3 separate regions of the Homo sapiens genome follow, and all the other regions are linked to region 1. The links are contacts of gene promoters, found by promoter capture Hi-C in blood cells and fetal thymus (Javierre and others, 2016). All regions are on one chromosome and are shown on one strand. Each heading gives the region's core, a stretch centred on a gene start or on the middle of the fragment in contact. The rest is flanking DNA. Distances are from core to core; before and after follow the strand shown.

Region 1 (3,120 bases), core at 324-2,823:
ACAGAATGAAGCCGCCAAATGCCACCTGTGACTCACACTGGAGGGTCACCCTTCCTCCTGAGGTCACCACAGGGCTGGGCTGGGCTGAGAGGGTGGGTTTTGGGTAGGCTCCTAGGAGAGAAGGAGGCATCGTGTTAAATGGGGCTCCCACCTCCCACATCATCCCCAGGGCTGGGCTGTGAGAGGGAGACACCCCTGAGAGCCTCCTTCCTGAGGGCAGAGCCTGGGGCTGGGATCCCTGAGTGTCCTCTCACCTGTCATCACCAGCACCAGGGGGTCACTGAGCTCAGACCACCGAGCGCGGCTGTAATACTGACAGCCATATCGCCCTGTGTGTTCCCAGGTGATGGATGGGATGTGGAACTGGCCGTTCTTCACAAGCTCTGGTCGTATCCGTGTAATCCAAGATGCTGATTTTTTCTCCCTATATAGACGGTACTCCTGGGCTTCAAGGCTCCCCTGACAACTGAGGGTGACGGGACTCCCCTGGGTGATCACAGAGTCTGGCTCAGCCCACAGGGTGGGCTTGGGGATGGTCCCTGGAAGGAAATCAAAGGTCAGATTCGAAGTCATTTCCCACCCAACAGATCTCAGCTCTCAGCCCAGGACCCTCCAGATGCCCCCATCAGTCAGTCCAGAACTTCTAATCCCCATCCCCAGCTGCACGGAGGTGGCCCCTTGTCCCCAGTGAGGAGGAGGGACCTGGGAGAGCTGGGGACAGACTCACCTGTCTGCACGCGGGTCCTGGGGCCCAGACTCAGCCCTGGAAGAGAGTTCCCTGTGAGGGATTTGCCCCCTGAAGCCTGAGCAGGTCCTCCCCTCCCTGGGATCTTTGTGAGCCCCTGGGGTCTCCTTAGGGACCAGAGTTTGGCTGTGGGGTGAGGTCCCTCCTAGGTTAGAAGCTCCCCTCTCTCTTCAAATCTCACCGAGACAGATCAGGACTGTGACGATGGGGGTCATGGCGTCTCCTCCCACTGCCCTGCTCTGCGGATGGATGAGCCCTCGGTGCTGGCGGGACAGAGACACACAGAGAGAAATAGCCTCCCCTCCTTCCCACCCTGTGTGGACACTCAGAGGCTGGGTCCTTCTCATGGGGTGTTGTCATCTGCAGCCACACAAGAAGCGGAACTGCCCTCCCAGGAGCCTGACTCTCATTCTTTTAGAGCTGAGGTGGGGGCAGGCACTGGGCCCTCTGCAGACATTTCAGACTGTAATGGGGTCTTTCCTGACCCCCAGCCACTGTCTGTCTGGTTTCTCCTCGTCTCACCGAGAGCCGGGATGTAGCAGCAAATAGAACTGGTGCTTCTTGTGTCTGCCCTTCCTGATGAGGGTAGCAGTGGCTTCCCCTTCCTTCTCACAGCTTCCCACATGGTCACCCTCCCTCCTTCAGCCCATCCATCAGCACAGCGTTGTGGGGTCCTTACCATGGCAGTCGTCCCTCCAGCCCTGGAGATGCTTCAGGGAAGACCCAGGTCCATGCTGCAGGCAGACTCAGATCAGCAGAGAAGCATCTCGCCTCTGGCTGTGCTGTCCAGGTTGAGCTGTGTGTGGCAGTGAGCACAGAGGAGAAATGCAGGGAAGTAGGGGAAGAAAAGTTGACTTCTTTCTTGACACTGGATTGTGGGTTTTCTTTCAACCAAATAGTCCCCTCTTAACTTCCCCTTTTTAAATGTTTTTGCTCCAGCGTCCACTCCCTCCCCCCCGGGAAGAAACCTCTGAGTCTTTCCTGCCTCCTCGGTGCCCATTGCGTCCTTAGCCGTCCCTCTGCACCTCAATTCCTGGTCAACATTTTGGGAACAATGACTTATGTTTGAGCTTTGATTTGGGGAGTGGGGGAGGGAGTTGATATTTATTTGATGACTGGTTATCATCCGCTGCCTACGTGACCTTGGTTTGTAATGTCCCATCACTGAGCCTCAGTTTCTTCCTTTGCAGATTGTTGTCATGAATCCCACTCGTCACAGTGGTTGTGGGGTCAGTGGTGCCTGGGACATTGGGAGGGGCTCATTTGTGCTTGATTTCCAGACCAGGGTAAGACCTGAGGCTTTGGGACGTGAGAGGATCTTGCTGTTGGACTCCACATTCTGTAGGTGATTGATGAGTCCACTCAAGATGTCACATCTGACCGTAATGGAGAAACGTATGTGTAGCATTTCTGAAATACCCAGAGTATCAAGGTCATGAGCAGAAAAAGACATGTGGAAACCCCAAGTGTAGACGGACTCACAAGAAAGAACAGAGGCCAGAGGTGAGATGCCACAGGGTCCCGGGACCATCAAGGGCTCATTAGGGTGGAGGTTTCCACCACTGAGTGGAGCCGGGAGAGGAACCCCGGGATCTGCAATGACAGTGAGGGGCTCAGGGCTCCAGACCAAGGTGGGAGGCTGCGTCCTCTAGCTACACCTGAGGCTGGAGTGGACCCCAAGCAGCCCAGGGGAATTCCCTCAAGGGAGTGCACCAAACTGTCCAGACCTGCTGGAATTCCAAGGAAAGAAGCACTAAACACCAGGGTGTTCATAGAGCATTTATTAGGGGGACCTCTGCACAGTGGGGCATCCTTGTCTTCTTGCCCAGTGTCTCCTTGTGGATCTCAAGGATGTGCTTCCACATAGCAGCATGTTCTTCAGATGGACAAGGAGACACTGGGTATTCTATCCAAAGCTTTAACCTAAAATAAAAACAAAACCAAAAATAAACCCCTAGAAAATATGATCTCTCAGTACAGTTGTTTCTTGGGATACACAGGCAATTCGTTTCAGTACCCCCTACATGTACCAACACTTGCTCGTACTCCAGCCCTGACGTTGTCTCTGCTGGGTCTGCATATAGGAAAAGTCTGCCGTTCATATACGCAAGTCTTGTTTCTCACAAATGCTATAGTTTTGATCCCCGTTTGTTTGGAAAAAGTGTGCATATAAGAGACCCCTGGAATTCAAGGCTGCATTGCTCCAGGGTTGCCTGGATTTTGAGTTTATTTGGGAGTGAGAAGCAAGGATTACAATATGGAGTGCATGGCATGGCAAGCCACAGTGTGTCCAGAGAGGGAAGTGTGATGTTGTGATATATGCTGGTTTTCACCCGCAGTTCCTGGCTTGTAACTCCCATAGCCCTTGTTATAGT
Region 2 (3,120 bases), core at 427-2,926, 120 kb after region 1:
CAACTTCCGCCTCCCGGTTTCAAGTGATTTTCCTGCCTCAGCCTCCCAAGTAGCTGGGATTACAGGCGCCTGCCACCACGCCTGGTTAATTTTTGTATTTTTAGTAGAGATGGGTTTCCCCATGTTGGCCAGGCTGGTCTTGAACTCCTGACCCTGTGATCTGTGGGCCTTGGCCTCCCAAAGTGCTGGGATTACAGATGTGAGCCACCGTGACTGGCTAATTTTTGTGTTTTTAGTAGAGATGGGGTTTCGCCATGTTGGCTAGGCTGGTCTCGAACTCCTGACCTTGTGATCCGCCCGCTTCGGCCTCCCAAAGTGCTGGGATTACAGGCATGAGCCACTAGAGTCTCTTTGTGAAAAGGAATGGAAGGATGTGGTGTGATGCAGCACGCATCACCAGGTCCCTGTCATAAATTTGCTTTTGTGGCCGGGCGCGGTGGCTCACGCCTGTAATCCCAGCACTTTGGGAGGCTGAGGCAGGCGGATCCCCTGAGGTCAGGAGATCGAGACCAGCCTAGCCAACATGGCGAAACCCCATCTCTACTAAAAATACAAAAAATTAGCCGGGCGTGGTGGCAGGCACCTGTAGTCCCAGCCACTCGGGAGGCTGAGGCAGGAGAATAGTTTGAACCCGGGAGGCGGAACTTGCAGTGAGCCGAGATTGCTGCACTCCAGCCTGAGCGACAGAGCGAGACTCTGTCTCAAAACAAAACAAAAAAAGCTTACCCTCCATGATGCAGCAATCCCACTACTGGGTATATGCTCAAAGAAACTGAAACCAGTGTGTGGAAGAGATGTCTGCACCCCTATGTGTATTGCAGAGTTATTCACAATAGCCAACATATGGAATCACCTAAGTCTCCATCAGTGGACAATGGGTAAAGGAAATGTATATATACACAGTGGAAATACTATCCAGCCTTAGAAAGGAAGGAAACCCTGTCATTTACAGTATGGATGTAATTGTCAACCTTCAGGACATCATGCCACATGAAATAAGCCAGATACAGAAAGACAAATATCGCACAACCTCACTTATACATGGAATATTAAAAAGTTGAACTCAGGCCTTCGAGACTAGCCATGGCCAACATGGCAAAACCTACTCGGGAGGCTGGGCACGGTGGCTCACGCCTGTCAGCACTTTGGGAGACCAAGGCGGGCAGATCACCTGAGGTTGGGAGTTCGAGACCAGCCTGACCAATATGGAGAAACCCCGTCTCTACTAAAAATTCAAAATTAGCCAGGCGTGGTGGTGCATGCCTGTAATCCCAGCTACTCGGGAGGCTGAGGCAGGAGAATGGCTTGAACCTGGGAGGCGGAGGTTGCAGTGAGCCGAGATTGCGCCACTGCACTCCAGCCTGGGCGACAGAGTGAGACTCTGTCTCAAAAAAAAAAAAAAAAAAAAAGTTGAACTCACAGAAGCAGAGAGCGGAATGGTGGTGACCAGGGGCTTGGGAAGGGGAGTAGGGATTGGGAAGATCGTGGTCAGAGGGTACACAATTTTAGATAGAAAAAAATAAATTCAAGAGATCTGTTGTGCAACATGGTGACAAATTAGTGAAAATGTATTATGTACTTAAACATTGTTAGCAGAATAGATCGTAAGGGCTCTCGCCACACACGCAAAAATGACAACTATGTGGCCACGAACGGTGGCTCACACCTATAATCCAAGCACTTTGGGAGGCTGAGGCAAGTGGATCACTTGAGGTCAGCAGTTTGAGACCAGCCTGGGCAACATGGCCAAACCCCATCTCTACAAAAAATACAAAAATTAGCCAGACGTGGTGGCACACACCTGTAATCCCAGCTACTCGGGAGGCTGAGGCACAAGAATCACTTGACGTGGGAGGTGGAGTTTGCCGTGAGCTGAGATCGCACCACTGCACTCTAGGCTGAGTGACAGAATGAGACTCTGTCTCAGAAAAAAAAGTGAGGTGATGGATATGTTAAACATCTTGATTATGGTAATTATTTCACAATGTGTACATATGTCAAAACATCATGTTGTACACCTTAAATATATACACTTCTCTTTTTGAGACGGAGTCTCGCTCTGTCGCCCAGGCTGGAGTGCAGTGGCGCAATCTCGGCTCACTGCAATCTCCGCCTCCCGGCTTCACACCATTCTCCTGCCTCAGCCTCCCGAGTAGCTGGGACTACAGGCGCCCGGCTAATTTTTGTATTTTTTTTTTTAGTAGAGACGGGGTTTCACCGTGTTAGCCAGGATGGTCTCGATCTCCTGACCTTGTGATCCACCCGCCTCGGCCTCCCAAAATGCTGGGATTACAGGCATGAGCCACCGCGCCTGACCAAATATATACGCTTTTATTTGTCAATCATATCTCAATTAAGCCAGGAAAAAATTGGTAAGGCTACTTTTGGAAACACTTTGACACTATTTCAAAAAATTGAAACTAACAATCCCTATAGCGCAATCATTCCATTCTTATATGTATACTCTTTAAAAATTCTTGCACATATGCACCAAGAAACATGTAAAAAATGTCTGTTACGTAATAGGGAAAGTAAAATAAATAGAAATAGAAAAGTAACTAAAATAAAAGAAGCCCATGTGTTCATCAACAGGTACAAAAATACAAAAACTGTGATATAGACCTATATTGGAAAGCTTCAAACTATGGCATTGAAAATGATTTCACGAATCATTTCAAAAAAAAATTCATGGTTTCTGTTGTCATTTTTACCAAGTTCATTCCAATATGTGGTTTAGAGACACTATTTTAAACAAATAAGGGGCCAGGTGCAGTGGCTCACGCCTATAATCCCAGCACTTTGGGAGGCTGAGGCGGGCAGATCACCTGAGGTCAGGAGTTTGAGACCAGCCTGGACAACATGGTGAAACCCCGTCTCTACTGAAAATACAAGAATTAGCCAGGCATGGTGGTGCGCGCCTGTAATCCCAGCTCTTCGGGAGGCTGAGGCAGGAGAATTACTTGAACCTGGGAGGCAGAGTTTGCAGTGAGCCGAGATCATTCCACCGCACTCCAGCCTGGGCAACAGTGTGAGACTCTGTCTCAGAACTTAAAGTAGAATAAAATAAAATAATAAAATAAAACAAATAAGGGAACGACAAGCACAGTTACTTCTGCAGAG
Region 3 (3,120 bases), core at 400-2,899, 80 kb before region 1:
GTGTTCAAGATACAAAAATGCATAAAATTTGGCCAGGCATGGTGGCTTACACCTGTAATCCCAGCACTTGGGGAGGCTGAGGCGAGTGGATCACTTGAGCCCAGGAGTTCAAGACCAGCCTGGGCAATATGGCAAAACCCCGTCTCAAAACAACAAAACAAACAAACAAAAAACCCATAAAACTGAACAAGGTAGTTTGTAAGATATGGAAGTACAATGCAGATGACAATAATGACGATGGTAGCTACCACTAGGCGCTTTATTTATGCCACTCTCCTCAACACTGGATAGACTCTCACTTAATCCTCACAAGCTTATGAGGTAGGCGCTACCATCATTCGCCGTTTTACAGAGGAGGACGCTGAGGCACAGAGTGATTGAGAAACTTGTCGAAGGCACTGCAGCTGGCAAGTGGTGACGTGGCATTTGAATCCAGGCATCCGGATGGTGTGGATGCCGTGGAAGAGAAAGGGGCGGGTGGGACTGCTTCCTGAGGAGATAGTGACTGCCGAGGCAGCAGCGTAGGGAAGACAACTGAAGAACACGAGCTGTGGAGACAGACCATCGCATTCGGAGTGGAGAGATGGGTGTACAGACAGACAATAACCAGACTATATATAAAAAGAGAACTCTAGGTCAGGCGCGGTGGCTCACACCTGTAATCTTAGCACTTTGGGAGGCTGAGGCGGGTGGATCACTTGAGGTCAGGCGTTGGAGACCAGGAGTTCAAAACCCCGTCTCTACTAAAAATTTAAAAATTAGCCGGGCATGGTGGTGGGCGCCTGTAGTCCCAGCTTCTCGGGAGGCTGAGGCACGAGAATCGATTGAACCCGGGAAGCGGAGGTTGCAGTGAGCCGAGATCGCACCACTGCACTCCAGCCTGGGTGACGAGAGCGAAAAACTCCGTCTCAAAAATAAAATAAATTACTGATAATAGTACTAATACCCCTTAAGTGGCTATTGATAATAATAGTACCATGGGTGGGGGGGCAACTTCTCTGAGAGTGCTCTGTAAGTATGTATTGAAGATTGAGTAAATACATTTAAAATTCTTAGAACAGTATGTGGCACATAGCGTTCCAGAATGCCACATTATTGTTAGTGACAGAAATAATCTCGGCTGGGCGCGGTGGCTCACGCCTGTAATCCCAGCACTTTGGGGGGGCCACGGCGGGAGGCTCTCTCGAGGCCGGGAGTTCAAGACCAGCCTGGGCAACATGGCAAGACGCCGACTGTTAAAAAAAAAAAATGCTACCCGGGCGTCGTGGCGTGTGCCTGTAATCCCAGCTACTGGGGAGGAGGTGGGAGGATCGCTCGAGCCCGAGAGGTTGGTCGGGGCCTCAGTGAGCCGAAATCACGCCACTGCACTCCAGCCTGGGCGACGGAGCGAGACCCTGTCTCAGAAAGAAAAAGAAAAACCACCGTCCAGGGGCGGAGAAGGAAGGTTCTCCCTACTTCTCAGGTTTCCACTCCCTGGCCGGAAAAAACCTAGTCCTCCCAGGTTAGCACGCCGCTCTAGCCCAGCCTCACGTCTCCACTGCTTCTCAGCCAGCCAACGCCTCTTCTGATTGGCTCTGACGTGCGTGGTGCGTGAAAACGTCACGAGACGCCGGCGTTACTATAAGAGCGCAGCCGTGGCGCTTCCGCGCCTCTTTCTCAGTGACCGGGTGGTTTGCTTAGGTGAGGTGCGGTGGTGTGCTTTTTCTCTAGGGTTTGGGTTGGATGGTGGCCCGGGCCTTCCGAGTTTCCATGAGTAAGCTAAAGACGTTAGGAAACAGAGCAGGGTGGTTGAACGGGAGTGCAGCACGGTTGTGGGGGCAGATACTGACTATGAGAGCGTTGGAGGTTATTCTCGCGAGATCGGATCTGGGCTCCGCGAGGTTTTGGCGTAGTTGTGGGACTGCGCAGGCGCCGTTTGGATCCCTTACGCTCACACTTCTCTCCCGCGCAGGCGCAGACGGGGAAGCGGAGCCAACATGCCAGTGGCCCGGAGCTGGGTTTGTCGCAAAACTTATGTGACCCCGCGGAGACCCTTCGAGAAATCTCGTCTCGACCAAGAGCTGAAGCTGATCGGTGAGTGGCCAAGGCTTCCGGGAAGTGGTTCGGCTTCCGGGAGGCGGTTAGCACGTGGATGAAGGTGCCCATGTACTCTATCTAGTCCGTCCCCTAAATTTGGTACTATTCGTGGTTTAGGAAGGTTTTGTGATTCCAAAGCTGCCAGTCTAGTTGTTGTGCCAGTACGTGGGACTACACTTGTCCACCCCCTTCTCCCCACCAGGCGAGTATGGGCTCCGGAACAAACGTGAGGTCTGGAGGGTCAAATTTACCCTGGCCAAGATCCGCAAGGCCGCCCGGGAACTGCTGACGCTTGATGAGAAGGACCCACGGCGTCTGTTCGAAGGTGCGTATGGGAGTCCACAGCAGAGGGATGGGGTGCAGGGCTTGTGAGGTTCATTCTCCCTTCTGTTGCCTCTGTTCCAGTGATGAGAGTTGTGTCATTGGATAAATGGAACCAGCCTTCTAACTTTTAGTGGCACTTGTGGAGTAGGAAAAGTGTATCTGGATCAGTCTTTGCCCTGTTTCTTAGGTGTGTGGCTTTTTTGCCCAGTTATTGGACCTTCAGTTTAGTAATGACCAGAGCTAAAGATAGGCCTGGCACACCTGGGCACCCGTCTATATCTTTATATTCTGTTTATGTGGCCTGTTTGCTAGTGGATGAGAGTAGACTATGAAGTGGAATTTCTGGGCTAAGTGATGGTGATAACAGGGTTTGCACATTTGCTTGGTTTATTGTTTTTTTAATTAAGTTTTCTCGTTTTATTTAGTCTTTTGAGACGGAGTCTTGCTCTGTTGCCCAGGCTGGAGTGCCGTGGCGCCATTTCGGCTTACTGCAACCCCCGCCTCCTGGGTTCAAACAATTCTCCTATCTTAGCCTCCCAAGTAGCTGGGACTACAGACAGGCGCACGCCACCACACCTGGCTAATTTTACTTTTGAGACGGAGTCTCGCTCCATTGCCCATGCTGGAGTGTAGTTGTCGCAATCTTGGCTCACTGCAAACTCCGCCTCCAGAGTTCAAGCGATTCTCCTGTCTTAGCCTCCTAAGTAGCTGGAATCACAG

The links. The method cuts DNA at HindIII sites, captures the fragments that hold promoters and counts their contacts. A CHiCAGO score of 5 or more calls a contact.
Region 2: a fragment that was not itself captured here is called in contact with the fragment with the promoter of LILRB2 in region 1 in 4 of 17 cell types (total B cells, naive B cells, neutrophils and 1 more); the score reaches 9.8 in total B cells.
Region 3: the fragment with the promoter of RPS9 here is called in contact with the fragment with the promoter of LILRB2 in region 1 in 2 of 17 cell types (neutrophils and monocytes); the score reaches 7.3 in neutrophils.

What each region holds. Positions count from the first base shown.
Region 1 is chr19:54,279,537-54,282,656 of GRCh38, forward strand. It overlaps LILRB2 (leukocyte immunoglobulin like receptor B2), which reads right to left and starts at 1,574. Exons shown (of 14, transcript NM_001080978.4): 1 at 1,425-1,574; 2 at 927-1,008; 3 at 728-763; 4 at 255-539; 5 at 1-111. The coding sequence starts at 960. MIR4752 (microRNA 4752) reads left to right here and starts at 2,573; the gene lies at 2,573-2,644. RefSeq lists an enhancer at 1-687. The HindIII fragment of the contact is 13,229 bases long and covers 1-2,659 here.
Region 2 is chr19:54,395,136-54,398,255 of GRCh38, forward strand. No RefSeq gene overlaps it. Among named protein-coding and RNA genes, the nearest start is that of TTYH1, 19 kb to the right of the region's middle. The HindIII fragment of the contact is 1,914 bases long and covers 720-2,633 here.
Region 3 is chr19:54,199,209-54,202,328 of GRCh38, forward strand. RPS9 (ribosomal protein S9) reads left to right here and starts at 1,650. Exons shown (of 5, transcript NM_001013.4): 1 at 1,650-1,680; 2 at 1,952-2,073; 3 at 2,279-2,401. The coding sequence starts at 1,977. RefSeq lists an enhancer at 1,038-1,707 and a silencer at 1,470-1,963. The HindIII fragment of the contact is 3,345 bases long and covers 312-3,120 here.